Linked DNA regions of Homo sapiens: region 2 is linked to region 1. Evidence: promoter capture Hi-C in human tissues and cell types (Jung and others, 2019). All regions are on one chromosome and are shown on one strand. The core of a region is centred on a gene start or on the middle of the fragment in contact, and the rest is flanking DNA. Distances in the headings are between cores, read along the strand shown.

What was found. Contacts are between HindIII fragments. The study calls those that stand out against the background at their distance.
Region 2: a fragment that was not itself captured here is called in contact with the fragment with the promoter of ZNF25 in region 1 in 1 of the 25 tissues and cell types used here (stomach).

What each region holds. Positions count from the first base shown.
Region 1 is chr10:37,975,291-37,977,990 of GRCh38, reverse strand. It overlaps ZNF25 (zinc finger protein 25), which reads left to right and starts at 1,344. Exons shown (of 6, transcript NM_145011.4): 1 at 1,344-1,485. It overlaps ZNF25-DT (ZNF25 divergent transcript), which reads right to left and starts at 1,236. Exons shown (of 6, transcript XR_930830.4): 1 at 986-1,236. RefSeq lists enhancers at 1,101-1,330, 2,371-2,460 and a silencer at 1,371-1,780. The HindIII fragment of the contact is 22,972 bases long and covers 1-2,700 here.
Region 2 is chr10:38,148,943-38,151,642 of GRCh38, reverse strand. It overlaps a transcript of ZNF37A not described here. Among named protein-coding and RNA genes, the nearest start is that of ZNF37A, 56 kb to the right of the region's middle. The HindIII fragment of the contact is 5,746 bases long and covers 1-2,700 here.

The DNA.
Region 1 (2,700 bases), core at 95-2,594:
TGATGGCTACCCTAATTATCAGGTGAATTTCAGATGAATTATGCATAGCAAATGTTGCTGTACAGTCATCTTACTTGAGGACAAGTTATTTTTACCTTGAGGAAATAGAATGCGTTGTACCAGACCGGCTAATACAAAAAATGATAGTTCTTCCTGTCTTCATAAACTCATTAGTGGGTTGCCTGTGACGCACATCGCAGTCTGGTTTAATGTTTATTCAATAATGTAACTGTTTTGTTCTTTTCTCCATCTGTGGAGAGAATTTTCTGGGTTGGCAAGAGGCTTTATTTTAAATTATTTCCTCAATACTTCCCATCCAGAAAGGTGGTGTGTGTGTGTGTATTATGTGCGCATATTTTTATATGTATATATATGTGTGTTTATACACATGACAATATATACGTTTTTTTCTAGATGATTCTACATGTTTTAATGTAATAAAGTTATTGACCAGGAAATATATAATTTGTTTTACATATACAGCCAAGTCCTCTCTCTGTATCCGCGGGGGATTAGTACCAGGACCTCCCTGGATTACTCAAATCCAGGGATGTTCAAGTCTCTGGTAGAAAATAACCTGATATTTGCATAACCTACACACCTCCTCCTGTATATTTTAAATTATGTCTAGATTAATTGTACACCTAACACAATGTAAATACTATGTAAATAGTTTTATTGTATTGTTTAGGGTATAATGACAAGGGGGAAACTTTGTACATGTTCAGTAAGATAGAATTTTTAAGTATTTTCATTCTGAGCTTAGTTGAATCCATAGATATGCACCCCCAGGATAAGGAGGGATGACTATATATATTCCTTAGTGAAATGATAGTCATGATACTCTATACCATTAGGTTAAAATTTGTGTAAATTCATGAGAAGGATGTTCACCTAACATTAAGCGCTTTTGCTTTTGGGAAGTGGTATACTCGTTTTCTGTTTTAGCTTATACATATTTTGTAGTTTATTACGTTTCGCGTACCGTTTGCACAATTGTGAAAGCTAGCATTCCTAAGAGGAAGCGGTTACAGGGCATTATCCTTCATTACTCCACGTACTCCTGTACCCACGGAGTTCAATCACTTTAACAAAACTGCCCATCAGTGTTCCTTGGAGCACCTCACGGTGGATTTCTGTCTTCAAGCCCAGACGTGCAGGGTGCAGCTCTCCGGCCATCACTGAGCAAGGACAGCGCCCTCTCCCGGAAACCCGACAGCAATCACTCAGGCCGCTGGAGGCGGCCGCGCCTCACGACGTCATCCAAGATGGAGTCGCAGCCGGGCCTTCTGGGAAGCGTAGTTCTGGAGTAGGGCTAGGGAAACGTTCTGCGCATGTGCAGTGTCTTCTTTCTGGCATTGGCGTTTTTTTGGTCTTACGCCCTAGGGTGGGGAGAGGACTCCGGTGCCTCCGGGTCTGGGCTGGGCCGCAAAGGGCGGGGCCTGGGCCCGGCGCGGGCCGGGAGCAGAGGCCGAGACCCTGCAGGTGTGTCGAAGGCTTTTGCGGGCGGGCAGGGCCTGGGAGGCGGGGTCTCGAGCCTGGAAGCCGCCTCCTGGCCCCGGAGCGGCCTCCGCGGAGGGCCCTGGGTGGGAGCCGCCTGGTGGGGAGGTTGGCTGGCTGCGCTGGCGCCCCTGCCCGGAATGGCGTTTGCGCGACCTGCTTGAGGGGCGGCCAGAGGAGGCCTGCGGTGCTGGGCAGTGGGCGCCCGGAGCAGCCGCATTGTGTGACGTGACCGGAGCCGCCATGTGAGGCGCGCTGGCCGCTGCAGACGCGGCGCTCCAAAGCCGCAGGGACGTGGGCTCTGGTCCAGCGTCTGTAGGTGGTCCCAGTGCGGCTCGACGCGCATCTGGCAAATGATGGGGGCCTTTGGGTACTGAATAGGGTAATAGATGTAAAGTATGATACAGGACTCAATAAAGGTGAGCTGCTTCTATTATTACAAAACATGCTGTTTTCATTATTGGCTCATTTAATCATCGTAACCATCCTTTCGACTTAACCATCTCTATTAAAATAAATGTGACTATTAAAGATTCAGAGAGAGAAATCCGTTTACCCACAGTATTAGCAGGTGGGATGTAAATCCTCACTTTTTCCTCTGAGTTAATGCGCCTTGCCACACTAAAATCCAGTCTTGACTTGTATTTAGCACAGCATTTGCCCCTTGAGCACCACCAGAACGTAGCTGTGTGGTGTACTTGAACCCAGTCTCAACCAGGTAGTGTTCTGTTTCCAAAAATGCTTGGGGAATCTTCAGAGCACTTGAGTCAAAAGGTGAATTATTTAAGGCCTTCCTGCATCCTCCAACCTTAGTCTCTTCTCAGAGGACTGTGAAACGTGTAAATTGAAACCACAATTTGAGCCCTCAATTTTGCATTTTACAGGAGAAGCTGGGAATCCCATCCAGCCCAGAGGCTAGTTTCTAAAGACAGGAAATGGGACAAAAAATTTTTTTAAAGATGAAAACTGCAGTTCATCAGTTCCTCCATTTTATGGTGGTGATCTTATAATGCCTCTCATTGGCTGATAACTGAGCTTAGGCATTTCGTAAGCACCATGCTAGCTGGAAGTGGTTTTTGCTGCTTATTTTAGTTTTTTTTTTTGGTACATAATGTACATATTTGTGGGGTACATGTGATATTTTGATATATGCATACAATGTGTCATGATCAAATCGGGGTAATTACAATATCCACCGCC
Region 2 (2,700 bases), core at 10-2,509, 170 kb before region 1:
AGATAATCTTCAGTCTTCTATAGAATAAAATGAAAGATTACAAAATTGAAGATTAGAAAATTACATAGAGAGCTGGGCATGGTGGCTTACACCTGTATTCCCAGCACTTTGGGAGGCCAGGGTGGGTGGATCGCCTGAGGTCAGGAGTTCGAGACCAGCCTGGCCAACATGGTGAAGCACCGTCTCTACTAAAAATACAAAAACTTAGCTGGGTGTGGTGGCGGGCACCTATAATCCCAGCTACTTGGAAGGCTGAGGCAGGAGAATCACTTGAACCCAGGAAGCAGAGGTTGCAGAGAGCAGAGATTGCACCATTGCACTCCAGCCTGGTCGACAAGAGCTAAACTCCATCTCAAAATAAATAAATAAATAAATAAATAAATAAATAAATAAATAAATAAAAAGAAAGAAAATTCCATAGAGAAACAGCTATTTCTCGATCTTCTTGATTCTTGTGCTCATGACAAGACTGCAAGTTACTCAGTTCCACTGTCTTTTGCATCTGTGGTTGTGGTTGAAAGGAATGGCCTGAATCATGCACCTCGTAACTCACAGAGTGGCCCCATGCATTCCAGTTTTCTTTTTTTCACTTAGATTCTGAATTACCCATGTAGTTAAAGGTGTTTTGTTATTCTTCACAATTCTGTCTGTGGCTAATCTTATGTTCATGGGATTCATTTGAGTCTGGAACATGTCCCAGATGGCAAGATGCAGCATGTCACAATATTTTCAAAATCCATGAACACAGTTGTTTGGCAGTTCCACAGTAAATAAGTATTTGGAGTCTTAAGCTATTTCTTTTAAATATGTTCAGGTACTGATAGTGACACTGTTGAGTTCTACTTGAGCCCTGAGGCACTGGGAAACAGTGATGGTTAAAGAAATCACCACCTTGTGTTCCTGCCTTACTGCAAAGAACTTCCCTTCCCCATTGACTTAGCTAAGACTCACGGATCCCCCTCAAAGGATGTCCCACCTATGACAAGGTTAGACACAGACCCCGCAAATGCTGTCTTTGTTTCATGAAAGTTTAGCTGAACTGCTTGTCCCCACGGATGCATTTCAGGATAAAATGCTAATTAACTCAGCTTTGATATGGGCTTTACCATGTCCTTCAGGACCTGCTCATTAGTTAGAGACCCCTTGGACTGCATAACTTCTTCAAAGACATTTTATTTTATGCTTAATCATATAGAAATGTAATGATTTGATAGATTAACCAATGTGGTTTTCCTCCCTTGTTCTCCAGTTGCCCACTATTTCTCTCCCATTTAGTCTAAACCTTGGCATCTCCTCTTTCAAAGGGGAAGTTTTAACAAAAGGACAAAGAGAAAGAAAAGAGCAGACACTCACATTTTGAGTTTTAATAAACTTGGCAGAATGATGACACAAGAGTGAGTTTGTCCCATCCCAGAGCAGATGAGGAGCTTCTGAATGAGAGTGGGGAAAGGGATGGTGCTGTTGACACTCGATGGTGATTACACTCATGCAGACAGGAACCTTGAGTGGTGGGGGCTGAAGGTGCTGAGCGCAACGCCCCAGGCAGACAAGAAGAAACTTGCAAGTGCAGGTACAAGATGAGGAGTCACAGTGAAACTTATCACAACATTCAACCTCTATTCAGGAAATACTTCACAACACTTACCAGGTACTTTTCTAGGCACTGGACATAACGCAAAGAATAAAGCCATAAAAAAAATTCTATCCCCGTGGAACTTACAATTTTGTGCAGAAGAGCAAATAGTTCACTAAAGAAATTAGCAAAACCGGGCATGTGCGGTGGCTCACGCCTGTAATCCCAGCACTTTGGGAGACCAAGGCGGGCGGATCACGAGGTCAGGAGATTGAGATCATCCTGGCTAACATGGTGAAACCCCGTCGCTACTAAAAATACAAAAAAACTAGCCAGGTGTCGTAGCATGCACCTGTAGTCCCATTTACTCGGGAGGCTGAGGCAGGAGAATGGTGTGAACCCAGGAGGCGGAGCTTGCAGTGAGCCAAGATCATGCCACTGCTCTCTGGCCTGGGCGACAGAGCTAGACTCTCTCTCAAAAAAAAAAAAAAAAAAAAAGCACAACTGTAGAATGTTGGAAGGTGTCAAAAGTTATGGAACAAAATGAAGAAAAGCGGATAGGGACTGCTGAGGGGTGGGCTACAATCTGAATTGGGGGTTAGGAGGGGATGGAGTGAGAATGTCCCATTTGATCATAGCCTTGATGCATGTGAGAGAGCCTGGAGGAGACAGTGGGCGAGAGCCTCCCAAGTGGCTGTAGCAGGCTGGGTTCTGCATTACATAGGGCACATTAAGTGAAATGTGATGGCTATTTTGTGTAATCCTTTAAAATCCCAATAGAATTAGCACTGTCTAGGAGGACTACACTTTGAAATAATATTTTCAAAAATAATTATTTCAAAGAAAGCATAGCAGTTGCATCCTATTGAGAAGTGGGAATATTGGATAATAGGTTAAGCTATCATTTTGTGTTAGAATATTGAAGCAAATATGGCTTGGTGTGGTGGCTCACATCTGTAATTCCAGCACTTTGGGAGGTGAAGAAGGGTGGATCACTTGAGGTCAGGAGCTCAAGATCAGCCTGGCCAACATGGTGAAACCCCGTCTCTACTAAAAGTACAAAAATTAGCCAGTTGTGGTGGTAAGTGCCTGTAATCCCAGCTACTGAGGAGGCTGAGGCAAGAGAA